Regions from separate parts of the Homo sapiens genome. Here all the other regions are linked to region 5. The links are contacts of gene promoters, found by promoter capture Hi-C in blood cells and fetal thymus (Javierre and others, 2016). All regions are on one chromosome and are shown on one strand. Each heading gives the region's core, a stretch centred on a gene start or on the middle of the fragment in contact. The rest is flanking DNA. Distances are from core to core; before and after follow the strand shown.

Region 1 (5,796 bases), core at 1,969-4,468, 360 kb before region 5:
AGAGGAAGGGAGAGGAGTTGGAAAAACACCCAACCTCCTGCAGAACTAGGGTGCTTTGTATGTGCTGGGCCCCGGGGTTGGTGCTTCACACGGGTAACTTCATTCAGTTCGCTGGTGAGCCCCAGGGTGAACCCAAGCTGATCAGCCTTTTACAGAGAAGGAAATGGAGGCTCCGAGAGGTTAAGTCACCTGTTCAGAGTCTCGCAGCTCGTCAGTGGGGAGAGCCTTTGCTTTTAGCCACTCCTCAGTGGGCCCCACAGTGCCATTGATGAGGGCTCTCCCTGCAGTCCCTGTAGCCGGAGCCCAGGGAACTTCTTGGTTCCACCGCGCCTCTTGGGGGCAGCGTCTGACACTGCCGATGCCCCTCCCGGAAACCCCCCTCTGCCCTCAACTCAGTGGCACCTCCCTCTCTCTCCTACCTCTGACCTCTCCTTCTCAGGCTCCTCCGGCGGGGGCGCCTCTTCCCAGCTCCTTCTTGTGTGGTGGGTCCAGGTTCTCTGTCTCAGATCCTCCACTTTTTTTTTTTTTTTTTTTTTTGAGACGGAGTTTCACTTTTGTTGCCCAGCCTGGAGTGCAGTGGCTTGATCTCGGCTCACTGCAACCTCCACCTTCCGGTTTTCAAGTGATTCTCCCGCCTCAGCCTCCCGAGTAGCTGGGATTATAGGCACCCGCCATCACGCCCAGCTAATTTTTGTATTTTTAGTAGAGATGGGTTTCACCATGTTGGTCAGGCTGGTCTCGAACTCCTGACCTCGTGATCCGCCTGCCTTGGGCTCCCAAAGTGCTGGAATTACAGGCGTGAGCGATCCTCCACTTTTCTTCTTAGCAATGTCCAGGGCCTCCCATGGATGCCACCCATGTCACATTATCTCCTCCCCCATGTGACCAACAGCCAGAAGATCCCCTCACTAGGGCAGATGGAGGCACCTCCTCCAGGGGTGTGGATCCATGTCCTCTGAGGGAAGGGGCGACAGGATGCACAACTGTTTAAAGGTCCCACAATTTCCATATCAAACCACTAACCTAATTTACTCATGCATGAGTCCCACCTCTGCATTATTTCCTCCACTCAAAGGTGCTACGTACTATAAGGTCAGTGGTTCATTTCATAGTTGGGGTTTGTTGGGGGGGCAGGAAGTAAGGAGGGACTACCAGATTAAAACTGCAGATGAATTACAAGATGTGGCCAGGTACGGTGGCTCACGCCTGTAATCCCAGCACTTTGGGAGGCCGAGGTAGGTGGATCACCTGAGGTCAGGAGTTCAACACCAGTGTGGCCAACATGGTGAAACCCCGTCTCTACTAAAAATACAAAAACTAGCTGGCCGTGATGGCAAGCACCTGTAATCCCAGCTACTCGGAAGGCTGAGGCAGGAGAATTGCTTGAACCCAGGAGGCGGAGGTTGCAGTGAGCCGAGGTTGCACCATTGCACTCCAGCCTGGGCGACAAGAGCGAAACTCCGTCTCAAAAACAAACAAACCAAAAAAAAATTGTAAGATGTGTCTTGAATTCAGAGTTGGGAAAATATATATCTTAGAATGGAGGAAATTGGCCTGTCTCTCCCTCCTAAGCTTGAGACCCCCATATTTAATTCATCCCATGCACACTCATCTCATCTGCTTCCTGCCACCCCCAGGACAGCCCTGCCGCTGGCGCGACGACCTGTGCTGGTGAAAGGCAGGACCACCCACTCACAGCCCCGCCAGAACTCAGGCCTCCTTGGCTCCTCCCTCCTGCTCAGTGCCACAGCTATCAATCAGCAGATCTGGTCTGTTCTGCCTTGGAAGTATTTCTGGAATCCAGCCCCTGCCCCTTCCTCATCCAGGCCACCAGTGGTACCTCGTCTGGAGTTCAACTCTGGCGTCGTTCCTGGCCAGCCTGTTCAGCATTCCCCCAGCCCCCCTCTCTTTCTCTTTTTTCTTCTTTATTTTGTTCAAAATACTTTAAGAATACTGGAAAGTATAGAGACACACATAACAGCAACCAAGTACTCATCACACAGCTTTGCTAAATCTTCGTATTTTCCCCATCTGCCCCCAGTTCTTTTGTCTTAAATCAAACACTACCGATAATTGAAATCCAGTAAATGAACTCCTTTGTGTCCTTCCAAATCTTATGTTTCTTCACCTGTCCTCAGACATCACGAGTATCCTGCTTTTAAAAATTCTCAAGTCATGCTTTTTATTATTTTGTAACATTTTGTAACATTTAACGTTTTGTAACTTTTTATTTGAGTATTCTGCTTTCAAAAATTCTCAAATAGCCAGGTGCGGTGGCTCACGCTTGTAATCCCAGCACTTTGGGGAGGCCGAGGTGGGCAGATCACGAGGTCAGGAGTTCGAGACCACCCTGGCCAACACGGTGAAACCCTGTCTCTACTAAAAATACAAAAATTAGCTGGGCGTGATGGCGGGTGCCTGTAATCTCAGCTACTCCGGAGGCTGAGGCAGGAGAATTGCTTGAACCCGGGAGGCAGAGGTTGCAGTGAGCCAAGATCATGCCATTGCACTCCAGCCTGGGTGACAGAGCTAGACTCCGTCTCAAAAAAAAAAAAAAAAAAATCTCAAATCATGCTTATTATTTTGTCACATTTAATGTTTTGTAACTTTTTATACGGAATTTTTTAAGCATACACAAAAGTAAAGACAATAGTCTATTGAACACCTGTTGCTCATTACCTGATTCTAATAATGATTAATTCATAGTCACATCCCCCACACTTTCCCACCTCTGCCATTTTGAAGCAAACAATATATTTTCATCCATTTGCGTCTCTCTGCAGTATGTATCTCTAAGAGATGAGAGCTCTTTTTAAAATAACTACACCATTGTCACACCTACTATACAATTGATAGTAATTCCTTAACATCAAATATCAGTATCATTTATTGCACAAAATGGGTCAAGCGTGGTGGCTCATGCCTGTAATCTCAGTGCTTTGGGAGGCTGAGGTGGGAGGATCACTTGAGCCCAGGAGTTCAAGACCAGCCTGGGCAACAAAGTGAGACCCCCCCCAAATCTGCAAAAAATTAAAAAATAAAAATCAGTCAGGAATGGTGGCACACACATGTGGTCCCATCTACTTGGGAGGCTGAGGCAGGAGGACTGCGTGAGCCCAGGAGGTCAGGGCTGCAGTGAGCTGTGTTTATGCCACTGTAGTCCAGCCTGAACAATAGAGTGAGACCCTGTCTTTTAAGACAAATTATTGCACGGATGCTTTTTGTACAGTTGGTTTGTTCCAATGAGAGTCCATATAAGGTCCTCACACTGCCCTTAGTTGGTATGCTTCTTAAGCCAGACACAAAAGAGGTTATATCGTATGATTCCATTGATGTGTTTAAAAACAGGTAAAATTAATCTTTATTGATAGAAGTCAGAATATTGGTTTCCTCACTGGTCGGGGGAAGACACTCACTAGCAACCCTTCCTCATTTATTTGCTAGAATACTACCATAAAGAAAAGGACTTCATAAAGAGATCCTTTCCTTCATCCACCATTTGATTACTATGTGGGTCTCGCAGAGAAAGTTTGTTAAATGCTTTATTTAGTTTTCAGAATAATGAATTTGTTCTCTAGCACTGACCTGTAATGTTTCTAGTATCATTGTGAACTGATGGATTTTTAACATATTTGATATGTTTTAATCCTTTGCACTTATTCTTACTAATGTTCAAATCATCTCATCTTTGGGCAGTGGGTGGCTCTTCGATTTGGCACCTAAATCCTTTTGACATCAGCATTAAGTTTAGAGGTGTGTTCCTAGTAGCTCTGATGTGGTCCATTTATTTGAACTGTGGTACACTGTTGCACTGTGTGCCAGATGAACTTTCAGAAATGCACACGTGAATTGTCTGTTTCTTAAAATCCTTCAATGGATAAAGTCCACACTCCTTCCCAAGGTTTACTGAGCTCGCTTGCTTGCTTGCTTTTCTTTTTTTCTTTTTCTTTCTTTCCTTTTTCTTTTCTTTTTTCTTTCCCTTCCTTCCTCCCTCCCTCTTCTTTTCTTTTTTTCTTTTCCTTCCTTTCTCCCTCCCTCCCTCTCTCTCTTTCTTCTTCTTCTTCTTCCTTCCTCCTTCCCTCTTTCTTTCTTCTTCTGCTTTCTTCTTCCTTTCTTCTTCTTCTCAGTCTCTCCCTCCCCATCTTGAACTCAGGCTACCTTCAGCATCCTGAACATACAACCCCCTATTCCATTCATCTTTGCCCAGGCTGTCTCCTTCACCTGTAGCACTGCCTCACCTCCCTACACCTGCTTTTGCTAGCTATCTTCTATTTATATACCTCTCATCTCATTTCAGCCACACTTTCTCCCATGAAACCTTTTCTGGCTGTTCCTACCTCTTTCCGTGCTGGGTTGGGTGGCCCTTCCCCAAAGAGGCATATTTGGGGAAAGGCCAGCAGGGCAGTTCCCAGGACACGCATCCATCACTGGAGATGTCACGAGATGGAGAAGGTGCTCGGGAAGTTTCCCCTGGGCGGCTGAAAGGCATGCTTTGATAAGCCCCTAGGAAGGCAACTTGGTATCACAGAACTGGTGTTCATGCTGCCTTCTAAAGAGCGTGGGTTTCATGGCTTCTGTTCCACTGAGTGGGACCTGAGGGTTAGGGCCAGAGTGGCATGGTTCTGGACCAGGCTGGGGGAGGTGAGCTGAGTCTGGCAGGCCACCTGCCCCACCAGCACCCTCTCTATCCCTGCTTCTCCCTCAGTAAATGAACAAATACCAGAGATCACCAACGTGAAGGCTTTCCCAGAGTCCCCTCCAGCCCTATCCCCCAGTCATAGATAGGGCTTATCTTGCTGTTGTAACTGACTGTTTACTTGTCTGTCTGTCCTCCCTCCATGCCACCCCCCAAGCTGTAAGCTTCCTAAGAGCAGAATCTGGTTTTCCTAACTCCTGCTATTTCCCTAGCATTTAGCATAGCTCCTGGCTTGTAAGTGGTTCCTGGTACAATCTTGTTGAATAGGAAATTCTTGCCTTGGAAGACATTGCAAAATGCCTTCCATCAGCGATTATCAACCCTGGCTGTGCCTAGAGCCACCAGGGGACCTTTTGCAAAATTCAGATGCCAGAGACCACAGAAGACTTGTTTATTCATCTGAATCTCTGGGGGTGGAGACTGGCAGGTGTCCTTTTTAAAGCCCCTACAGGTGATTCTCACATGCAGTTAAAGTCGAAAATCCCTAGCCCAGTTGTGCATCCCCCTGCCCAACAAATGGACCGTGGCCCGTACAAACCCAGGAGAAGCAGGCAGCGGAACCCCAGTGTCCCTCACAGCCTCTGGCCGTGACCCTGGCCAAGGGCCTGCCTGCCCAGGTGTCCAGGTGTCCAGGCATCCAGGCTGGAGGTTGGCAGGACTGGGTGGCTCCCTCAGGCCCCAGGGGCTGGCTGTGCATTGACCTGAGCCCCTGACCACAGTTCGAGGAGATCCATGAGGTGATTGCACGCTACAAGACGCTGGTGAGCATGCGCCACGACCTCATGCAGTCTGCGCAGGAAGGCCAGGAGAAGATTGAGCGCGCCAAGGCCCGGCTGGCGCGCTACATGGAGGAAAAGGATGATGAGATCCTGCAGCAAAACAATGAGCTGGCAAGGCTGCAGATGCGCTTTGACCGTGCCCGCAGCAATGTCATCTTCTGGGTGAGGGGCCCGGGGCGGGCCGGGGGCTCCCAGGCACTGGGTGAGTGCGGGCCCTGAGCATACACACACACACATACACACAAACACACACACACCACATGCTGTGCTCATGCCCCGTCCTTATCCACTCTCCAGGAATCTCGCTGGGCGCACATCCAG
Region 2 (5,909 bases), core at 489-2,988, 270 kb after region 5:
AGATGGTGAAGTTCCTCACTGCAATCATCTTCAATTGCTCTGCCCAGCACGCTGCTGTCAACAGTGGGCAGGTGAGGCTACAAAGGGCAGGCCTGGGGACATCAGGTCTCAGCAATGGACTTGAGGCCTGAATTTGGGTTGAGAGCTTGGGTGGGTCAGCGTTGGGGTGGGTTTATGATTAGACTTGGGGTTGGAGTGGCAGCTGAGTGGGGTGAAGGGTTGGCATTGGGTGATGACTGGGTGGAGCTGGGTCCAAGGTTGTAATGGTGATTCAAGTTGATGTTAATTTGGGAGAAGAACTTAGGGGCTCCTCTCATGGTTAGAACCCAGCCAGGTGGAGTAGCAGCTTGCTCTGTGTGGCATGGCAACCCAAGGCCCTTTTCTAGGATTACCTCCACTCTGGGGCCACCTCCTTCCCTAGTGACTCACCCCACCGAGTCCTGGAACACTGGGCGGGGAGTGACAAGGAGTAAGCTGGCTTCCTGCCCCACTTCTGGGACTTTCCACTCCCTACCCTTTCCTCTCTTGCCTTTCCATGATCCCCTCATTTCCCAGCTCTCTTGCCTTTCCGTGATCCCCTCATTTCCCAACTATCACCTCTAGGACGGCAGAGGTGGAATCAGGGATGGTGAAGAGGGAGGTGATACTCCCCTTCTGGCCAACTGACCCAACTGGGATGGGGGTCTCCACAGCATGACTTTGGGGCCTGGATGCCCAATGCTCCATCATCCATGAGGCAGCCCCCACCCCAGACCAAGGGGACCACCACCCTGAAGACTTACCTAGACACCCTCCCTGAAGTGAACATCAGCTGTAACAACCTCCTCCTCTTCTGGTTGGTTAGCCAAGAACCCAAGGACCAGGTGTGTATACGGGATGTTGAGGGGAGTAGGGTTCTTTAGGGCCACCAGTAGGGGTGGTGGTGGCTTCGTCTGGGGGCTTGAGGACTGATCGACGGGATTTATGTTCACTGCAGAACTGCCTTGGGTTCTTCAATTTCTTCAGAAAATGATAATCCCAAAAGACATAGACTGAAGCAAATACCAGTTTAGTTACCAATCTGTCCGTCCATCCATTTATCCGAATGTTCATTCATCAACTACTCATGTGTTAATGCAAACATTCAATAAACATTTGTTGGATACTTCCTATGTGTCCACACAGCACTGGGCACCAGGCCTATAACGCTGGCTGAGACCTTCCTGCCTTCAAGAAGCCTGTGGTCTAGTTGAGGAGACATACAGGTCAATGAAAAAGGGCACCACCGTGTTGTAGGAGTTACTTATATGTTAATTTCTCCATTCAACACACACTTCCTGAGTACCAGTGGTGACCCAGACACTGTTATGGGCAGCTATGAAACTTGTCCATGTGAGCTTACAGTCCAGTGATAGGGGTAAGGACAGGGCCCTGAGGAACCTAAATGGGTCTGGGGGAACCCAGGAAGGCTTCTTGGAGAAAGTGACATCTAAGTTGAAATCTGCAGGACAAGTAGGAGTTGGACAGAGAGGAAGAGCAGGGCTCTTTTTTAGGGAGGGGGAAGAACAGGACCAAGGAGCGAAGGCGAGAAATCACTGGTGTGTTTGTAGGATCACAAATGGAAATAGCAGAGCGGAGAGGAAGGTAGGGCTTTGTCTGCACAGTGTTCGTTTAGAAGACAAAGGGTAGCCAATCAAGGCTTCCCCCACCCCCCCACATGGAGTCTTGCTCTGTCACCCAGGCTGGAGTGCAATGGTGCGATATCAGCTCACTGCAACCTCCGCCTCCCAGGTTTAAGCGATTCTCCTGCCTCAGCCTCCCGAGTAGCTGGGATTACAGGCACCCACCACTGTGCCCAGCTAATTTTTGTATTTTTAGTAGAGATGGGGTTTCACCATGTTGGCCAGGCTGGTCTCGAATTCCTGACCTTGTGATCCACCCATCTTGGCCTCCCAAAGTGCTGGAATTACAGGTGTGAGCCACCGCGCACGGCCGCCAATCAAGACTTTTAAGCCTGAGGCCCAATGGTTAAATCTGCTTTAGCTAGGGTGCTCCTGTGGCTGCGTGAATGGATGCAAAGGGCAACTTTGGAGGCAGGAGGCTAGAGAGGGGCCAATATCTGAGTTTAGGCCAGGCAAGTAGCCCTTTATCACTGGTTCCCATCATCTTTGTTTCCACCCAGCCGTCTTGCACACAAGCTCTCTAACAGGTGAATATTCTTATTTCTCACGCTTGACTCCCTTTGGTGCTGGAAAGATTCCAGATGTTGCTGGGCACAGTGGCTCGTGCCTGCAATCCCAGCACTTTGGGAGGCTGAGGCCGGTGGATTGCTTGAGCCTAGGAATTCAAGAGCAGCCTAGGAAACATGGTGAAACCCTGTCTCTACCCAAAACACAAAAATTAATCGGGCGTATTAGTGTGTGCCTGTGGTCCCAGCTGCTTGGGGGGAGCTAAAGTGGGAGGATCACTTGAGCCCAGGAAGTAAAAAAATGCAGTGAGCCATGTTCACGCCACTGCACGCCAGCCTGGGTGACACAAAAACAAAAAACAAAAAACAAAAAAACAACAAAAAAAGAAAGATCCCACATATTTGATCTTCCTGGCAAGTTTTAACTTGCTACCTTATATCCTGGGAATGGCAGGACTCTGGGTCCTGTCCCTATCTGGTCCCAGAGGGATGACAGATAAGTAGACAACAGCATGAGGGTGGAGGGCTCTCTCCTATAAACTATAGAAAGTTTAACTTGGAAATTTATAACAACAATAATAATGGCAGCTGTCACTGAGGAGCCATCATGTCTCAGTTATTAAATCAGATCCTTTGTGTACATGATTTTAAAATGTGAACCAAATACATAGCTCTATTTAAAATGCTTGGCAGCCAGGCGTGGTGGCTCACGCCTGTAATCCCAGCACATTGGGAGGCCGAGGTGGGTGGATCACCTGAGGTCAGGAGTTCGAGATCAGCCTGGCCAACATGGTGAAACCCCCATCTCTACTAAAAATACAAAAATTAGGTGGGCATGATGATGCATGCCTGTAACCCAGCTACTCAGAAGGCTGAGGTAAGAGAATCACTTAAACCCGGGAGGCAGAGGTTGCAGTGAGCTGAGATGGTACCACTGAACTCCAGCCTGGGCAACAAGAGTGAAGTTCCATCTCAAAAAAAAAAAAACAAAAAAAAAGCAGCTTGGCACCGTGCTGGCATATAAATGTTCAATAAATGGTAGTTCCACTTCACAGGGGAGAAAACTGAGGTTCAGGGAGATTCAGCAATTTGTTCAACAGCACAGAGCTAGTAAGTAGGCTTTGAATCCAGTGTCATATTTCTGTCTTCTGCTGTGTTTTCTCTTTCTTTCTCTGGTGTGTGTGTGTGTTCTGTTTTTTTGATGGCTATACTACAGTTTTAGAAATCAAGTATTAAGCCAGGTGCAATGGCACAGGCCTGTAGTCCCAGCTACTCAGGAGGCCGCAGAGAGAGGATTCCTAGAGGCTAGGAGTTCAAGGCTGCAGTGTGCATGACCATGCCTGTGAATAGCCACTGCACTTCAGCCTGGGCCACATAACAAGACCCCATCTTTAAGAAAGAAAAGAAAAAAAGAAATTAGATGTCAATCTGATTTTAAAAACATAAAACTTGTTATTTCAAAAAAAACCACAATACAATAAAATAAAAAAACTACAGACATATTTCTTTTTTCTTAAGATTCTCTGGATCAGAAATTTGGGCAGGGCTAGGCTGGGCAGTCCAGAGGGTACTGGCTAGGGTGAAACACTTGCATGCAATCAGCTGGTGACTGGGCTGTGCTGGAAGTTCCCAGAAGGCTTTGCTCACATGTCTGGGGCCTCAGTGCACCTGTGTGGTTTTTCTCTCTCTCCATATGCTGTCTTATCCCCCAGGACTCTCCAAGGGGTCTCTCCCCAGCAGGATAGCTGGACTTCCTCATAGCACGGTGGCTGGCTTCCAAGATTGCAAACAAGCTTTCAGATTTCTTCAAGTCTAGGCCCAGAAGTGGCAGACTGTCACTTACAGCACTATTTTTTTTGCTTCCGTCCCTCCCTCCCCCCTCTCCCTCCCTCCCTCTCTTTCTTTCTCTCTCTTTCTCTCTTTTGACAGGGTCAGGTTGTCTGAAAAAAAGCCTGGTCAACTCCAGACAGGGTCACCCAGGCTGGAGTGCAGTGACATGATCATGGCTCACTGCATCCTCAAACTCCTGGGCTCAAGAAATTCTCTCACCCCAGCCTCTCCTGTAGCTGAGGCCACAGGCATCACCACGCCTGGCTAATTTTTTGATTTTTGGTAGAGACAGGGTCTTGTTATATTGCCCAGGCTGGTCTTGAACTCCTGGGCTAAAGTGATCCTCCTGCCTTAGCCTCCCAATGTGCTGGGATTATAGGTGTGAGCCACTGCATCTGGCCTAGACAATTCTAATCAAGGAGGAAAATAAAAAAGAGAAAGAAAGGGAACATAAATACACAGCATTAGGAATGGGAAAGGCGTATAACCACAAATGCAGAGAAGATTTTTTACTTTTTTTTTTTTTTTGAGACAGAGTCTCACTCCGTCACCCAGGCTAGAGTGCAGTGGCGCGGTCTCGGCTCAGTGCAACCTCTGCCTCCCGGGTTCAAGCAATTTTCCTGCCTCAGCCTCCTGAGTAGCTGGGATTACAGGCATGCACCATCACACCTGGCTAATTTTGTACTTTTAGTAGAGATGGGGTTTCTCCATGTTAGTCAGGCTGGTCTCGAACTCCTGACCTCAGGTGATCCACCCATCTCAGGCTTCCAAAGTGCTGGGATTACAGGCGTGAGCCTCCGCGCCCGGCTGGTAGTACTAAGAAGGGCAGTGGGTCTCATTGGAAGGCTCTAGTCCCAGATCCACACCTACCACCCATATGACTTTAGTTATGTAATGGCCTCTCTAAGCCTTATTTCCTTATCTTTAAAGTGAGAATAATAAGAATACCTGTCTTCAGAGTTGATGTATGGTTGCGATGGTTCATGTACAGTGCTTACGTGTTAGCTGTTATTACGAAAATGAAATTATAAGGCCGGGTGCAGTGGCTCATGCCTGTAATCCCAGCACTTTGGGAAGCAGAGGCAAGAGGACCGCTTGGGCCCAGGATTTAAGACCAGCCTGAGTAATATAGTGAGACCTTGTCTCTCCAAAAAAAAAAAAAAAAAGAAAACTAGCCGGGCATGATGGCGTATGGCTGTGATCCCAGCTACTCGGGTGGCTGAGGTGGGAAGATTGCTTAAATTTGGGAGTTCAAGGCTGTGGTAAGCTGTGATCCCATCGCTACACTTCTGCCTGGGTGACAGAGTGAGACCCTGTTTAAACAAAAAAAGAAAAAAATATATATATACTTATTCCACTTAGCTACAACAATCTTAAAAATATATCAGCCAATGAAGGCCAATAGTGAATAATAAAACAATAACACACCATGATAAAGTCTAATTTATTCTAGGAATGAAAGGAATGAAAGGTTGGTTCAACCTTATGAAATCTAGCAATATAGTTCATTACGTCAATAAAGATGCATACCATATAATTATCTCAATATGTGCTGAAAAAGCATTTGATAAATGTGAGCAGCCATTACTAATAAAAACTCAGTGTAAAATGAAACCCCCTTAAGGAGTTTTGATTAGAAGTATATTTCAGGCTGGGTGTAGTGGCTCACGCCTGTAATCTCAGCACTTTGGGAGGCTGAGGCAGGTGGATCACCTGAGGTTTGGAGTTCAAGACCAGCCTGGCCAACATGGTGAAACCTCATCTCTCCTAAAAATAAGAAAATTAGCCAGGCATGGTGGTGGCTACCTGTAATCCCAGCTACTCGGGAGGCTGAGGCAGGAGAAATCACTTGATCCCGGGAGACGGAGGTTGCAGCGAGCCAAGATCGCGCCACTGCACTCCAGCCTGGGTG
Region 3 (5,825 bases), core at 407-2,906, 500 kb before region 5:
GTGCCTGGACCAGGATGAGAGAAAGATCCTGCAGAGTGTAGTCAGGTAGGAAAGGGGGGTCCTAGGGAGGGGAGCAGTTTCTGCTCCCACCAACCCAGAGGCCTGGAAGGAGCTGGAAGGATGGGGGCCTGCTCTGATCCCTGGCCCCTGCCCTGCTGCACAGATGTGAGGTCTCACCGTGCTACAAGCCAGAGAAGAGCGACCTCTCCTCACCACCCCAGACGCCTCCTGACCTGCCGGCCCAGGCCGCACCTGATCTCTGCTCCCTTCTCTGCCTGCCCATCATGACTTTCAGTGGAGCTCTGCCCTAGTGTGGGCCCAGCGCCAGACTGGACAGAAGCCCTGGGGCAACCTCCTCGGCCACCCCTCCAGGACAGTCCCTCTCTGTGGAGAACTGAATGGCCCTGTGCAGAGCCATAGTCCCACTGTGGGTCCTGCAATGAGCAGGGGCTGGGAGTAGAGGGTTTCTGGGGCCTCAGGGTTCTGGGAAAGCAACAGCTATCAGAGAGAGAAGGGCCAGACCCCATAGCCTCTTAGATTCCTGGCAGTAGAAGGAGAAGGATGGGTAAATTGACCTCTGAAGTCCCTGACCATTAGCATGGTCTAGGATCCTTTCTAGAAGGAAGATCTGAGGCTCTGGTGCTCAGGGGGATGGCTTGGGCCTTTTCTCTCAACCTTGGCTGAGCCTACCCCTTACTTTGCCAAAGACTTGAGGACCCTGTATGTCTGGAGTTCAGTCCCCTCCTCTGTGGGGCTCAGGTGATTGAAATGTGGATGAAACATTTCTCTACTTCAAGACCACCTCTCCCTGCAAACACCACACACACATGGCATGCATGTACGCACATGCGCACACACACACGCACACACCTCAATAATTTCTCTCAAGTTTCCTGAGTCTCCAGAAAAACAGCACTAACGCTGGACCTGTCTACTCTCAGAACCCGGCACAGATTCTCTCTTGATCTCCTTTTGGAATCTGAGATTCTTAGAAGACAGGATAGGGTTAAATTTAGTAGCAGCTCAGTTCTAGCTAAATCACTAGAGGAAGTTAATTAACTTTAAGCCTTCATTTCTCCAGCACTAAAATGGAGTGGAGAGTTGGGGTGGAAATAAGACATCCTTAAAAGGTTAAATTGTCTGCAAAGCACCTAGCCCAGTGCCGAGCTCCCAGTAGGTGTTCAGTAAAGCTTAGTGCCTGACTTTCTGAACACTGATTCCTCCTGTTTGGAGTCACTGGGATACTCTCATTGCCGTTGGGATGTTCCTCACTCCTTCCCAGTTCGTGGCTGAGGCAGAACCCAGACTGAAGAGGGAAGAGACATTCCAGAGGAGGATTGCCTTCGTCAGGGTAAGGGGTGGGCTGCTCAGGGGCCCTACCCTTCACCCCCTTCTGTATCAGATTGGCCCTCCCACTCCCATCTCACTCTGCGTGTACAATCTTCCATATCCGCAAGTTCACTGGCACTCTTCTGGCACCTGGGCAAGATCCCAGAACAGAGGATGGAGTGACTGGCCTCACAGAGCTTAGTGCCCGACTCAGGGGAAATGGGACTGGTGCATGGGAAATGGTCAGCCTAGGATAGGACACGAGAGTCTGAAATTCAAAGCAACCAGCTTGAAGTGGTTTGAGAAGCTGGAAGCAAACATGGGCTAGAGAGATAGGGCAGAAGTCAAGACGAGGATCTGGACTGATGTGGAGAAAGTAGCCACGGAAGCATGAACTGTATCCTGCACAAAGTCCCTCTTCCCCGCCTCCTAATTCATTATGCCCAAAAGGCCTTACGTGAAATTCCAGCCCAGAGTACTCATGACTTGAGAGACGTGGACAGAGCCAGCTTCTACCTTGCCTGGCCGTCTCTCCCCTGTCTTAATGTCTGCTCTTGCTCTAAGCTCCAGAAGAGTGGCGGGCCATGTATCTTCAATATGTTTTTGCTGTATGGGCAGGTTGTCTTATTATGTGATCAACAGATGTCCAGGAACTAATGAGTGGAATTTAATATTATTGTCAAATAAAACTTGATTTGTCCTATATTTAATGACCAGTAGTTACTTTGCTGCATGACCCTGCTAGTTGGACAGTTTATATAAATCATTTTATTTATACCAGAAAGAAGCTTCATAGGGGATTGTTTTATTTCTCTTTTTGTAATTTTCCACCCTATAGAAAATATATTTGGGTGAAAATTTTCCCCAATACTGTTCTGCTTAAGCCTCATCATACTCACTGACCCACAGAACAAAAATTCCTACACCTAAGGACTCAGCATTTGGGGTTTCCTGTGCTACTTCACTTGAGAAATATATACCCATATATCCATCTGTTTCCTGTACCCCAAGCTCCAGGGAGGGGACGGGCCTGAGGCCGTTGCTGCGGATGGGTGGCACAGTGGATCCTGGACCTACCATGCAGCTGAGAGGAGGGGAAGAGAGCTCAATAATGGCCCTTTGGATCTGGGACTGCCTTTAGACTTGGGTGATAAGGAAAGAGAGAAGAAGAAGTGGAGGGATGGTAGAGGACACCTGTGGCTTGGGAGAGGGAGGTAAGTACCAGGTTGCCAGAACACTATTCAGGATGGAGGGAGAAAGAACTGTGAGCTGTTCCAGCTCTGCATCAGCTGGCTATTGCAAACAATGAAGCATACCTTCAATTCAGGGAACTAAGTCTCCGATCATTTGTTCTTGCTCATGCATCTGGAGGACATCTAGGGACCACCTGATCTAGGCTGGGCTCAGAGTGGCTTGGCTCCAAGCTGCAGGATGGGTGCAGATCTGCTTCGTTGGTCTTTCAGACACATTGGACCAGCATGAGAGGCAAGCAGAGACACGCGATGCCTCCTAGGAATGGAACCTGGAACAAGAACAATATTCCTTCTGCCAATAATTGGCTAACACTGATGAAGCACATCAACCCACAGACTTAATAAACCCAGCAAATTTTGCACAGGAATTTTGACACAGGAATCTCCACACAAGAAAAAAACAAAATCACATGAGAAGTGCACTTTACCTTTGATGTTCTTTCCATAACTCCAGTCTAATCAAGAGTAAAAAAGATCATATAAACCCAGACTATGGGACCAGATAACCTGACCAGTACTCTCTTACTGTCACAAAAAATAAGGAAAGACTGAGAAACAAAAAGAGATGGAGTAAACCTGAAAAATAAGCAGTAGACACTGGCTTGTATCCTGAAACATTAATCCAAAAACTGGTAAAATCCCAATACAATCTGGAGTTCAGTTTTTTCTTAAACACACACACACACATACACACACACACACACACCCCTTACTGTCAAACTTCTAAAGAAAAAAAGGTAATAAGAAAATACTAAAGACAGAGGAAAATAATACACTTTATCTTCAAAGTAGCAACAATTAAACTGAGAACTCTCTCTTTCAATAGAAACAATGGAAGCCAGAGATGATGAAATGATATCTTTAAAGTATGAGGGGAAAAAACAAACCTACTAACCTGGAATCACACACCCAGAATTGTCTGATAATACTTTTTTAAAAAAAACTTATAAACTGCAGCGGTCGGGCGCAGTGGCTCACACCTGTAATCCCAGCACTTTGGGAGGCCGAGGCAGGCAGATTACGAGTTCAGGAGATCGAGACCATCCTGGGTAACACGGTGAAACCCCGTTTCTACTAAAAATACAAAAAATTAGCCGGGTGCGGTGGCGGGCACCTGTAGTCCCAGCTACTCAGGAGGCTGAGGCAGGAGAATGGCCTGAACCCGGGAGGCGGAGCTTGCAGTGAGCCGAGATCGCACCACTGCACTCCAGCCTGGGTGACAGAGCGAGACTCCATCTCAAAAACAAAACAAAACAAAACAAAAAACTTATAAACTGCTCACAAGGGACACACTTTAAATATAACATCACAGAAAGGTTGAAAGCAAAAGGATGGAAAGAATCACACCATGCAAAACCAACCAGATCAAAAAAGCTGGTGTTAACACACTAATATCCAAAGATGCAAAACCGGACCAAAAAAGCTGGTGTCAATACACTAATATCCAAAGATTTAACAGCAGAAGCATTACAAAAAATAAAGAGGAACATTTCATAAAGATTAAGGAGTCCAACAAAAGGTATTACAGTTATAAAGCTATATACACCAAATAACAACTGAAAATTATATATAAATATAAATACATGTCACTATATAAATATAAACTGTATATAAATATAAATATAAAACAAAAATGGACAGAACTAGAAGTCTCCACAACCACAGTGGTCAACATATCTCTCCCAATAGCTGATAGAACACATAGACAAAAAATTTTAATAGAGATATACAAGATCTGGACAACACAATTAACAAATTTGATGTTACTGAAATTGATAGAACATTGTGGCCCATTCTCAGCTCACTGCAAACTCCGCCTCCCGGGTTCAAAGGATTCTCCTGCCTCAGCCTCCCAAGTAGCTGGGACTACAGGCGCATGCCACCACACCCAGCTAATTTTTTTTATTTTTTTAGTAGAGACAGGGTTTCACCATGTTGTCCAGGCTGGTCTCGAACTCCTGACCTCAGGTGATCCACCCACCTCGGCCTCCCAAAGTGCTGGGATTACATGCATGAGCCACCACGCCCAGACAGAAGATTCTTTAAACCATACTTCACAAAAATCACTGGCTGACCTAAGAATGGATCCCCTATTGGTCAGACACATACCCTGGATACTATCACCATGAGCTGTAGGCGAATCCATGGGCCAAGTGGTTATAGGCTAAAGGGGCTCTGAGCCAGAATGTCTCATCCAGTCCATGAGCTTTTGTAATCCGAGTCATTGAACACTGAGGAAAGGGGCCGAGGTAGGGGACTGAAACTAGAATCCCCATTGGGTCCTGCTGTTGGCAGATGAAGAGAAAGGAGGAGGCTGTCCTTTTCAGCACCCCATCCTCCTCCTCAAGGTGGCCCCTCCTCCGCATGGTACCTCACCAAGAGCTCAGGAGCTGGCCATAAACTTGCAGACTCTCACCTCCCACTACTCACAGCAGAATTACTTCTGCCCTAGGCATGTTGACCTCCTGGTCTTGCCATCCCTGGAATGGGTATATTTCTCCAACTTTGGGAGGAGATAGGTGTCTCCTTTTGCCACTTCCTGCTTCCTAGAAGGCTGGGCAGGCCTCAGTTAGGGGACCAAAATCAAGCTGTGCACTGCGGGTCTCAGGGTTTGGGACCGTAGAAGGGAGCGCTCTCTTGGCCCCCAGTTCCATCATTCCTTCCTGCACCTGGCAGAACCCCTGTGGCCTTACATTTCCTCTGCTCCCTTTGTCGGATACGGCACTCTCTCAGGCTAAACCTCGGATCACAGGGAGGCCAGGGAGGAGCAGGAACGTTCACCCTTGGAGTGACCCTGGCCGCCTCCCGATGTCTCCAAGCCTCGCTTCCTTGCCTGTGAAAATGACACAGTGTCTACTTTCCGGGGAGTGTGTAGGGCTCATCAGGGGACGCAATGTGAAAGGGGATGGTGCTGCTGAGACTGTAGTCCAGGTAGCCTACCGGGCCTCAGGTGTAATGCTCAACCTTGTTTTTACTAACCCTGTTTTTAGACTCTCCCTCTTTCCTTTAATCACCTAGCCTTGGTTCCACCTGAATTGACTCTCCCTTAGGTAAGAGAGCCAGACAGACTCCATCTTGGCTCTTTCACTGGCAGCCCCTTCTTCGAGGACTTAACTTGTGCAAGCTGACTCCCAGCACATCCAAAAATGCAATTAACTGATAAGATACTGTGGCGAGTGATATCCGCAGTTCCCAGGAATTCGTCCGATTGATAACGCCCAAAGCCCCGCGTCTATCACCTTG
Region 4 (6,085 bases), core at 2,369-4,868, 320 kb after region 5:
AGAAGGAATTTCACAAGGTAATGTCATCAGTTAAGGCAGAAACCAGCCATTTTCACGTCTTTTGTGATTCTTCAGTTGCTTCAGGGCATCTGGATGTATACGTGCAGGTCATAGGGGATATGATGGCTTAGCTTGGGCTCAGAGGCCGGACACTGTTAGAACAGGCGTCACTAATAAATTTGCTTGATTATTTAATAGGGTTAAAGGTCCTGGTAAGTTTGTGTGAGCCTAAATATGTGTAATATAAAAGGGAAAATTTTGAGTCCTAACTGCTTGTTGAAGTGAACTAAACAAGAAATTTAACTGATCATCAGAAATATGTTTTACTAAAGCTGTTTTTACCATTTTGGCAGCTTGGAATACGTAAGCAGAGTCAGAGATTATATTAACAGGTTGATTACAATCTTCCAATACAGATATAACTGCTTGTAGCTCAGCTCTTTGTGCAGAATGAAACTGAGTTTGAATAATCTTTTCTTCCGGTCCTGTATAAGCTGCTTTTCCATTCTGAGAGCCATCAGTAAAGATAGTTACGGCTCCCTCCAAAGGAATGGAACTAGTTATTTTGGGTAAAATTTAGGTAGTCAATTTTTAGGAACTGAAACATTTTAGTTTTAGGGTAATGAATATCTATACTGCCAACAAAATCAGCCAGATTTGACTGCCATTCTGACGAATTAATAAAGGCTTGTCGAACCTGTGCTTTGTTTAAAGGAACTACATTTTTATCTCGATCGGTGCCAATGAGTCTGACTATTCTCAGTTGTATTTGGCCTATAAGAATAGCTATTTGATCTAAATAAATTGAGAAAGTTCTAGTCGTACTGTGCGTTAAAAAGGACAATTTAACTAAGTCAACATTTTGAACAATCACTCCTATAGGAGAATGGAGAGTAGGGAACACTAAGAGCTGTAATGGAACACTAGGATCTCTTCTACGGACTTGAGCACTTTGAATTTTTTCCTCAATCATTTGTAACTCTTCAGCTGCAGCAGGCATCAGAGTTCTTTTGCTACATGAATTTGGATCCCATCTCAGCAAAGCAAACAGTTTAGACATTGCTTAGGTGGGAATTCCTAAAGTAGGTCTTATCCAATTAACGTCCCCTAATAATTTTTGGAAATCATTTAAGGTTTTTAAGGACTCTTTACGAATTTCCTCCTTTTGAGGCTTTACTGTTTTCTCCTGTACCCTCATTCCCAGGTAATGATAGGGTGTAGTATGGATTTTATCTGGTGCTATAGCGAGACCTGTAAGTCCCACCACTTCTTGTAGCCTAGCAAAACACTCAATCCGTCTGTCCCTGCTTGCAGCAGCACATAAAATGTCATCAACATAATGAATAATATAGCAATCAGGAAACTGATCCCTGACAAGCTGAATAACCTTTCCAACAAAAGTTTGACTATTTAACATTCCTTGGGGTACAACTTTCCATCGATATATAGTAGCTGGTTCCTTGTTATTCATGGCAGGTATTGTAAATGCAAATTTCTCAAAATCCTGAGGAGCCAAAGGAATAGTAAAAAACACAATCTTTTAGATCAATTATTACCATCGGCCATTCTTTTGGGATCATGGCCGGAGATGGCAACCCTGGTTGGAGAGCTCCCATCGGTTGAATGGCTGCGTTAACCGCTCATAAGTCGGTCAATATGCGCCATCTAGCGAATTTTTTCTGAATTACAAAAACTGGGGCGTTCCATGGTGAAAAAGATGGTTCAATATGTCCTTTGTCTAATTGTTCTTTTGCCAATGAATGTAATGCCTCCAGTTTTTGTTGAGGAAGCGGCCACTGATCAACCCAAACAGGTTTTGGAGTTTTCCGTTTTAATGCAATGGGCTTTGGAGGCTCAACAGTGGCCGCACCTAAGAAGGATATCCAATTCCTCTTCGGTCAAATTTAACTGAGACCTCAATCGGCTGGGTTATTCCGTCCTCATTTTTTTCCTAATCCTTTCCCAGGAATATATCCCATTTTGGTCATCATTCTTTGGCTCTCAGGACTGTAAATTGCAGGGGGAATGGTGATTTCTGTACCCCATTGCTGTAACAAATCTCTCCCCTACAAATTAATGGGAATGAAAGTAATCATAGGTTGGATGGTGACTTCCTGCCCATCTGGTCTTAAACGATGTAAAATTGTAGCACTTTGATAGACTTCAGATGCTGTGCCTACTCCAATCAAGCCCATAGAAGCCTTTTGTCGGGGCCACGCTTTTGGCCACTGATTTAGAGCTATAATTGAAATATTAGCACCTGTGTCTACCAGTCCTTCAAACTGTTTTCCCTGAATCATTGTGCACACAGGTCTGTTTTTAGAAGCTTGATTTACTCAATAGGCTGCTTTTCCTTCACTGTCAGTACTGCCAAAACCACTTTCTCTTTTTACTGTACTTTTTTCTACTATTACATAAGGTAATAACAACAGCTGAGCAATTCTATCTCCTGGGTTTGCACTCCAAGGAATACTGGAACTAATAACCAATTGAATTTCTCCCACAAAATCTGAATCAATCAGCCCAGTATGAATCTGAACTCCTTTTAAGTTTAGACTAGATGTTCCTAAAACAAGTCCAACTGTCCATCAGGTAAAGGGCCAAATACTCCAGTGGGGACTTTTTGAGGGGATTTCCCTGGAAGCAGAGAGATAGCTTTTGGGAAACATAAATCTAAGCCTGTACTCCCTGCTGTAGCTGGCGCCAATTGTGTTACTGTGGTGGTTGGGCAAGAGACAATGATGGTGGTTGGACTAGAGGCAATGACCGACTGAGGGACCAACTGCTGGAGTGAGAATGCCCCCGTTTGGAGCGGGGCCTGAGGCTGGCCCCTCTTCCTGTTTCCCGACTGCGGTTGTAACGGTTGGCCATTTTTGTCAAATTTGAAGTGACACTGATTAGCCCAATGTTTACCCTTCTGGCACCTGGGACATAAGCCAGGTGGTTCTTTTATTTGATTATATCTTGCCTGTTTGTTCGATTTGTTCTTACGTTCCTTTTTTGTGTGTCCAAATTGCCCACAATTGTAACAATTGCCTGAAAAGTTTTTAATTGGACCTCCCACTTTTAACTCTGTCGTGGCTTGAACCATTATCATAGCCTTATGCATGATTCCACCAACTCCATTACATGCCCTGATATATTCATTAATCACATCAACTCCCACCGGAACCTTTCCTTTCACTGGGTGAATAGCTGACTGGCATTCAGGGTTAGTATTCTCACAAGCCAATAATTCTACAATCACCTTCCTGGCACTTTCTTTCTTTCTTTCTTTTTTTTTTTTTTTTTTTGAGGCGGAGTTTCGCTCTTGTTACCCAGGCTGGAGTGCAGTGGCGTGATCTCGGCTCACCGCAACCTCCGCCTCCTGGGTTCAAGCAATTCTCCTGCCTCAGCCTCCTGAGTAGCTGGGATTACAGACATGTGCCATCACGCCCGGCTAATTTTTATATTTTTAGTAGAGACGGGGTTTCTCCATGTTGGTCAGGCTGGTCTCCAACTCCCGACCTCAGGTGATCCGCCCACCTCGGCCTCCCAAAGTGCTGGGATTACAGGCATGAGCCACCGCACCCGGCCTTCCTGGCACTTTCATCAGTGAGAGCCTTCTGTGCTGCGTCTTGAAGGCGAGCAATGAAATCAGGATATGGTTCCTTTGAGCCTTGTCTAATAGAATTAAAAGACTGATAAGTAGTTCCCAGATCCTGAATTTTCTCCCATGCCCTCAAACAGCAATTGCGAATTTGTTCAATGGCATCATCTCGAAGTCCTGATGGTTGTTTACAGTTCCCCATTGACCCCCTATTCCTAGAAGTTGTTCAAATGTAATGGCAATAGCAGGATTAGCAGCACGGTTTTTTCGATCTTGATTTTGAGCCTCGTCGGTCCACCAAGTCTTAAACTGAAGAAATTGGGAGGGCGAAAGTGTAACTTTCGTTAAAATCTCCCAATCACACGGAGTCAATAGCTTATTCTGAGCCACAGATTGCAATAGCGATCGGATGAAAGGCGAATTGGGACCATACTGACCAACAGCTGCTTTAAGATCTTTGAGCAGCTTAAAAGAAAATGGTTCCCATACCGCTTGATGGGCTCCACCTTGCTGTCGTGGGGGTTGCAAAACTACTGCAAACTGCCAGGCATCAAGATCTCCGGCTAATCTAGCCTGCCGAATAGTAAACTGTAATGGCGATTCATTAACATTAGATGGCAGTGCAGCCTTATGTTGTACTGGTGCTACACCATGCGCTCGTGGTTCCTGAGGCCACAATTCATTCATTCGTGAAACAGGGCAAATTTGAGATTCAGACCTCCAAGGCTCCAAGCTACATTGCTTTATTGGAGGCGGCCACTCCGGATGATCCCAATGAGGAGCCGACTGCTCCTCAAGGCCCTTCTTTGTTTTAAACATCTTGGCATATATGGCTTCTCTATTTTAGGAGCAGCTGAAGGTCCCACGTGCTCCTCAAAAGAAATTAACTCATCTCCAGGTTTGTCTGTATTTTCCTCAAAATCTTCTTCACTATCCTCTCCTCCTTCAGCAGCATCACCACCTTCCTCTGCAGAAATTCTTTCTGCTGGAGGATAAGCCTCATTTTCCGATTGAAACGGTTCCGAGGCTGCTTTAACTATAGCCCAGTTTGACCAGGCTGTTAGGGGGATAAATTTTCCTTCCTTACAAACTTGTTTTAAGGCAATTCCCACCTGTTCCCAATCTTTGAAGTCCATGGTACCATGTTCAGGAAACCAAGGACGATATTGCTCTACTGTTGGAAACAGAGTAATCAAATTTTCTGTGCTAGCCTTAATTCCTGCCCTCTTTAAGAGGAGCTTAATAAAATGTAAATATGCAGAATGTTTACTTTTGGATTGTCCCATGGTGTCCCTGGAATGCTCCGAGTGCACAAGCTTACCGCAAGGCCGACCACACGTTCTCGGGAGTTCCTGGACAGACCGTTCTTCACAACGACCACGCTCAGGTGTAACTTCACCTGGGTTCAAGGAGACCGTGTTGGGTGCCAAAGATGTAGGGGAACCTGCCTGATACACCACCCGCAGGCTCTCCCCTTCCCGGTGGAGACGAGGGAATGAGAAAAGAAATAAAGACAAAGACACAAAGTTTAAGAGTTAACAAAAGTGGGTCCAAGGATCCATCGCAACGTGGAGATTGCAAAGGCCAGGAGCTCTGGGTTCCACTGATATTTATTGAGTACAGTTCCTTTGATCCTATAGGCTGAGGGTGGGCTGATGGTGAGGTGATCATTGGGTGAGCATAGGGAGAGGTGGCGGAGCCTGCTGTGTCGGTCATTAGCCAGTTAATACTATTTACTGTTCCACTACGTAAGCTAATACTCTATGTTTAACTTACAGATAATCATCAGAGTCCAACTAAGCGGCTAATAGAACAGAACAGGACGTGAAAGCAAACAGCCCTTCAAACCCACAGGCCTGTACATCAAAGGAGTGGTCAACGCCTGAGCACCGTCAGCAGAGCAGCTGCTTTGCCTCTGGGAACATGCGGGAGATAGGAGGCTTCCTCCTTAACCCTACTGCAGAGGACTTCTCCTCTTTTACCAGCAGCCTCCTGCAGTACCCTCCCGGGTAATGGAGCAGGGGTCGCTTCCCTTCCCATGAGACCTTTGTTCAGGCACTCAAGTGGAAGGTTGAGCAATAAGCCAACTTTCTTGCTCAGAGGCTCCGCAGACTTCCTGTGGTTGTTTGTTCCACTCTGTGGTCAGTCAAGCAAGCTCACCGCCTGATTCTCTTATTGTTGTACTAAGCACAAGCTATTATACTTATGATTCATAATCATATTAGTAAAGCACTATTCTAAAGCATATACTATTAATCTTTAAATGGGCACAGTGTAGGCTGGTCCTCAACCACCTGGGCCCACATCCAAGCCCCCTATTTCAACCCACACATCCCTCTCCATTTCTGCCACTTTTGTCTCTGTCCCAGGCTTCAGCACCTTCTTAGGTCAGTGGGGGATGCGGGTGGGGACAGAAGAGTCTGTTTCTCATTCCCTGGGGTAGTGAGCAAAGGCACCCCTGGGATGTCCAACATGGATGGGGGTGCGGTGAGGGGA
Region 5 (5,400 bases), core at 144-2,643:
TGCCTCCCAAAGTGCTGGGATTGGGGGCATGAACCACCGCACCCAGCCTGAAGTTACTTTGGAAACAAATATATTTGTATATGACAGCTTGTAAAACTGTAGTGAGAAGAGCAGAATCATATATTTCTCAGTGAAAAAGAAACAAATCTTATAATGAAGCACAGAAGAGGCTTTAAGAATTACTGATACCATCTTGCCTTTTCTCCTTTGTTGGTAGGAAATTAGTAAATAAGCCAGGTTTGATGGCTAAAGAGTGATTTCTGGAGTTTTTTAAAAGTTAAAATCTTTTCTTATTAGGCATCCACCTACCCCAGGTTTGGGAAATGGTATTGAATGTTGGGCTTTCCCTTGTGTTTTAGTGATTATTTAAAGCTTGGGAGTGTTTTTTTCTTATTTTTCTGCAGGTGGTTATCACTAGGCTAAAACTGGACAAAGACCGCAAAAAGATCCTCGAACGGAAAGCCAAATCTCGCCAAGTAGGAAAGGAAAAGGGCAAATACAAGGAAGAAACCATTGAGAAGATGCAGGAATAAAGTAATCTTATATACAAGCTTTGATTAAAACTTGAAACAAAGAGCCTGTGTTTTGTGTGTGGTGATTTAGGACACTCCCTAGTTTTCAGTGGATCAGTCTCTTACCTCTGATTTGTTGGTCTAAAATTTTTCTGAAATCAGGACTGATGAGATTTTTTTTATAGTGGGCAGCAGCATTTGAGGATATATCAGAAGCTGGAGGGGTGTCATTGAGAAGAAGAAGGCCTACAAGAAAAGCTAGTTGGAAACACTTCCTCTTGAACCTGTCTTTTAACTTGCTTACTATGGATAGGTTGCTATATGGACAGGCTATATTTTTTACCTTACTGCGTAAAAGTTTGTATTGCCATTGGATAGGAAGTCTTGCTTTCAATAGGATAAGAAGCTTCTGTGACTTTATAGCTTCTAGATGACTTCTTCAAGCTGTTCCTCCAGATTGAGAGGTCTCGGGTTCAGGTTATCTGATAGACCCATGGGCCCCCTTTACCTTGTTTTCTGCACAAGTGCTGGATGAGTGCCATCAAACCAAAACCTAACACGTCTTTGAGTTAAAATATAAACTAAACTGCAGCTTCGTCAGGATGAAGTGAAAAGGTGTGAGGTGGCAGCAGTGTGTGTGCTCCTGCCGTTCCTCATTTTAAGCATCTAAACAGGACACCTGAAGCCCGTTTACTTTCCAGGCTGGAGACTTGGCAACAACGTGGGAATGGGGAACGGGCCCGAGTTAAGTCACTGGCTTAGCCAAGGTCACAGCTGGCATCTGGGTGAACAGCGCTGCACGGTGTCCGCGGTGCCTCTAGGGGGCGGGGCTTCCGGCTGGCGCTGACCGGCTTCCGGCGGAGCGGGCGGGAGGTGGGGCGGAGTTGCTGCTCGGGGGCCTCTGGGTGGAGGGGGATTCAGACGCCGCGTCTGGTGTGTCCCTTTCTCCTTCCTGACCTTCCTCAGTCTGCAGCTCTTTTCTCCACCGCGCGCCCGCCTCAGCCGTTCAGCCCTGAGCTGGCGGGTGGACGGGCATGGATCCAGGCGGTGGGAGCAGTCTGCGAAGTCAGGGTAGGAAGGCTACACAAAGGAGGCGACATCCCAGCCCGGTCCTCAGGAATAAGCGGGCGTGCCCGTGTGGTGTGGACGGTGAGGGGACACTGTATTAAGTGCCTTATCTGCATTATCATTGAATCTTCATAGCAATCGATTGTGATGGGTACTGGTCATCTCCCCGGGTTGTAGATGAGGAAACTGAGGCCTCAGTAACTTTGCTTTAGTCAGTAAATGATAAGAGTCAGCAAATGAATTCCCAAGCGTAGACTCGGCCGTACCGCTGCTCTACCTTGCTAATAACGACCTACCTGTAAGCGACATTTTTGACAAAATGTCCTTTAAACATCTTTTGTGCTCAGCTCTGTATTCGTGGGCCCTCCAAAGGGGGTACAGGCAGGTAGAAGCCTCCGTCCCTACCTTATAGGTTGTATATATCTGAACTGGTCGACTAAAGATGCAAAGCGAAGTGCTCCAGTGAGTGTGGTACAGGTTGTTGAGATGAAGGAGAGATGGCAATCAGCTAAAGTTACTGAATACGTCAGGAAGGAGGCTGGTTTCAGCTGGCTGTGATTGGGAGGATCAATGCGAGGACATTCCGAGTCGGAAACAGCCAAGGCGAAGACTCACAGGTGGGTGAAGGGAGTAAACATGGCTTTGGAAATATTTCCAGTTTTCTCTGACCAACTCGTTTATCACCTAGCCGTCACATAGATCACACCAAGAAGCTGATTGATTTACGGTCACATTTCTTTCATGTTGCTTTGGAAAAGATACTGAAGCCTCGGGCAACATAATGAGACCCCGTCTCTACAAAAAAAAAAAAAAAAGAAAGAAAAGAAAAAATTAGCTGGGTCTGGTGACGCATGCCTGTAGTCCCAGCTACTTGGGAGGCTGCGGTAGGAGGATGCCTTGACCCTGGGAGCCGTGATCATGCCACTGTACTCTAGCCTGGGTGACAAAGTGAGACCCTACCCTCTCAAAAAAAAAAAAAATGAAAGAAAAAAGATATTGAAAGCTTAGAAATGTGCAGGAGTGGGCAAGTAAGATGAATAGGTTAGTAGGTCCCGACGTCCTGGGCTGCGTGCAGCCCACAGGCCACAGGTTGGACAAGCTTGATCCAAAGGAAGATGCCGCCTCTCCATCACAGCCAGTTATTGCCAGGCAGCAATGCCGCCAGTGCAGCCAGAATGTTGCCTTTTCAAGAAAGCCAGAAATCGAGGCTGGGTGCAGTGGCTCACGCCTGTAATCCCAGCACTTTGGGAGGCAGAGGCGGGTGGATCACGAGGTCAGGAGATCGAGACCATCCTGGCTAACACGGTGAAACCCCATCTCTAGTAAAAATACAAAAAATTAGCTGGGCCTGGTGGCAGGTGCCTGTAGTCCCGGCCACTCGGGAGGCTGAGGCAGGAGAATGGCGTGAACCCGGGAGGCGGAGCTGGCAGTGAGCCGGGATCGCGCCACTGCACTCCAGCCTGGATGACAGAGCAAAACTCTGTCTCAAAAAAGAAAGAAATCGAGATTTATGTGAAATCTCCCAATCTGTAAATATAGGTGAAACATTGAATTTTTTTTTTTTTTTTTTTTTTTTTTTGTGACAGAGTCTGGCTCTGTCGCCCAGGCTGGAGTGCGGAGGCACGATCTCGGCTCACTGCAAGCTCCACCTCCCGGGTTCATGTCATCCTCCTGCCTCAGCCTCCTGGGACTACAGGCGCTCGCCACCATGCCCAGCTAATTTTTTGTATTTTTGGTAGAGACGGGGTTTCCTCGTGTTAGCCAGGATGGTCTCGATCTCCTGACCTTGTAATCCGCCCACCTCCGCCTCCTAAAGTGCTGGGGTTACAGGTGTGAGCCCCCACGCCCGGCCGAATCATTCAATTTTTTTTTTTTTTTTTTTTTTTTTAGTATTTATTGATCATTCTTGGGTGTTTCTCAGAGAGGGGGATTTGGCACGGTCATAGGACAATAGTGGAGGGAAGGTCAGCAGATAAACATGTGAACAAGGGTCTCTGGTTTTCCTAGGCAGAGGACCCTGCGGCCTTCCGCAGTGTTTGTGTCCCTGGGTACTTGAGATTAGGGAGTGGTGATGACTCTTAGCGAGCATGCTGCCTTCAAGCATCTGTTTAACAAAGCACATCTTGCACTGCCCTTAATCCATTTAACCCTGAGTGGACACAGCACATGTTTCAGAGAGCACGGGGTTGGGGGTAAGGTTATAGATTAATAGCATCCCAAGGCAGAAGAATTTTTCTTAGTATAGAACAAAATGGAGTCTCCTATGTCTACTTCTTTCTACACAGACACAGTAACAATCTGATTTCTCTTTCTTTTCCCCACATTTCCCCCTTTTCTATTCGACACAACCGCCATCGTCACCATGGCCCGTCCTCAATGAGCTGTTGGGTACACCTCCCAGACGGGGTGGCGGCCCGGCAGAGGGGCCCCTCACTTCCCAGACGGGGCGGCCGGCCGGGCGGGGGCTGCCCCCCACCTCCCTCCCGGACGGGGCGGCTGGCCAGGCAGGGGCTGCCCCCCACCTCCTGGATGGGGCGGCTGCAGGGTGGAGATGCTCCTCACTTCCCAGACGGGGCGGCTGCCGGGCGGAGGGGCTCCTCACTTCTCAGACGGGGCGGCTGGGCAGAGACGCTCCTCACCTCCCAGACGGGGTGGCGGTCGGGCAGAGACACTCCTCAGTTCCCAGACGGGGTCACGGCCGGGCAGAGGCGATCCTCACATCCCAGACGGGGCGGCGGGGCAGAGGCGCTCCCCACATCTCAGACGATGGGCGGCTGGGCAGAGACCCTCCTCACTTCCCAGACGGGATGGCGGCCGGGAAGAGGCTCCTCACTTCCCAGACTGGGCGGCCGGGCACAGGGGCTCCTCACATCCCAGACGATGGGCGGCCAGGCAGAGACGCTCCTCACTTCCCAGACGGGGTGGCAGCCGGGCAGAGGCTACAATCTCGGCACTTTGGGAGGCCAAGGCAGGCAGCTGGGAGGTGGAGGTTGTAGGGAGCCGAGATCACGCCACTGCACTCCAGCCTGGGCAACATTGAGCACTGAGTGAGCGAGACTCCATCTGCAATCCCGGCACCTCGGGAGGCCGAGGCAGGCAGACCACTCGCGGTCAGGAGCTGGAGACCAGCCCGGCCAACACGGCGAAACCCCATCTCCACCAAAAAATACAAAAACCAGTCAGGCATGGCGGCGCCTGTGGGCAATCCCAGGCACTCGGCAGGCTGAGGCAGGAGAATCAGGCAGGGAGGTTGCAGTGAGCCGAGATGGCGGCAGTACAGTCCAGCCTCGGCTTGGCATCAGAGGGAGACCGTGGAGAGAGAGGGAGAGGGAGACCGTGGAGACGGAGACGGAGACGGAGACGGAGAGAGGGAGAGAGGGAGAGGGAGACCGTGGAGACGGAGATGGAGAGAGGAAGAGGGAGACAAATTTTTTTAAAATCACTAGATGGACCAACCAAAATAGGTCTATTAGATAATTGTAGACCCTGGACTCTACTGTAGAATTTCATGGTATAGTAAGGACTGTACCTCTACTAAAGACTGAGATTCTACATCTTTTGATTATAAATTGTTTCTAGCCTGTTGCCTTCATTCTTTTTTTTCTTTTTTTTATTTTTAGAGACAGGGTCTCACTATGTTGACTAGGTTGGTCTTGAACTCCTGGCCTCAAGCAATCCTCTCACCTTGGCCTACCAAAGTGTTAGGATTACAGGCATGAGCCACCATGCCCAGTTGCCTTCATTATTTTATAGAATGAAGATGAGGCTTTTCCTTCCTTTGCGGTCCCCTGAAGGGACTCAAATAACAACCAACACAGCA

What was found. Contacts are between HindIII fragments. The CHiCAGO score rates a contact against its expected background, and 5 or more counts as called.
Region 1: a fragment that was not itself captured here is called in contact with the fragment with the promoter of KRABD2 in region 5 in 9 of 17 cell types (total CD8 T cells, naive CD8 T cells, naive B cells and 6 more); the score reaches 7.4 in total CD8 T cells.
Region 2: a fragment that was not itself captured here is called in contact with the fragment with the promoter of KRABD2 in region 5 in 1 of 17 cell types (neutrophils); the score reaches 5.1 in neutrophils.
Region 3: a contact is called between a fragment that was not itself captured here and the fragment with the promoter of KRABD2 in region 5, in 1 of 17 cell types (total CD4 T cells). The highest score is 5.1, in total CD4 T cells.
Region 4: a fragment that was not itself captured here is called in contact with the fragment with the promoter of KRABD2 in region 5 in 2 of 17 cell types (naive B cells and total B cells); the score reaches 7.0 in naive B cells.

Annotation. Positions count from the first base shown.
Region 1 is chr17:8,735,231-8,741,026 of GRCh38, reverse strand. CCDC42 (coiled-coil domain containing 42) reads left to right here. Exons shown (of 7, transcript NM_144681.3): 5 at 5,416-5,637; 6 at 5,773-5,796. Among named protein-coding and RNA genes, the nearest start is that of CCDC42, 6.7 kb to the left of the region's middle. RefSeq lists an enhancer at 1,695-2,195. The HindIII fragment of the contact is 3,288 bases long and covers 1,575-4,862 here.
Region 2 is chr17:8,098,277-8,104,185 of GRCh38, reverse strand. ALOXE3 (arachidonate epidermal lipoxygenase 3) reads left to right here. Exons shown (of 16, transcript NM_021628.3): 14 at 1-71; 15 at 693-863. Among named protein-coding and RNA genes, the nearest start is that of MIR4314, 13 kb to the right of the region's middle. The HindIII fragment of the contact is 4,448 bases long and covers 1-3,962 here.
Region 3 is chr17:8,875,125-8,880,949 of GRCh38, reverse strand. PIK3R5 (phosphoinositide-3-kinase regulatory subunit 5) reads left to right here. Exons shown (of 19, transcript NM_001142633.3): 18 at 1-45; 19 at 164-2,034. The coding sequence ends at 311. It overlaps LOC124903919 (a long non-coding RNA gene), which reads right to left and starts at 3,568. Exons shown (of 3, transcript XR_007065610.1): 1 at 2,646-3,568. The HindIII fragment of the contact is 927 bases long and covers 1,193-2,119 here.
Region 4 is chr17:8,055,974-8,062,058 of GRCh38, reverse strand. No RefSeq gene overlaps it. Among named protein-coding and RNA genes, the nearest start is that of ALOX15B, 20 kb to the right of the region's middle. RefSeq lists enhancers at 4,312-4,381, 3,865-4,382. The HindIII fragment of the contact is 2,579 bases long and covers 2,329-4,907 here.
Region 5 is chr17:8,372,697-8,378,096 of GRCh38, reverse strand. It overlaps KRABD2 (KRAB domain containing 2), which reads left to right and starts at 1,393. Exons shown (of 2, transcript NM_001304947.3): 1 at 1,393-2,197. RPL26 (ribosomal protein L26) reads left to right here. Exons shown (of 4, transcript NM_000987.5): 4 at 405-581. The coding sequence ends at 533. RefSeq lists a silencer at 1,259-1,458 and an enhancer at 1,203-1,754. The HindIII fragment of the contact is 1,665 bases long and covers 921-2,585 here.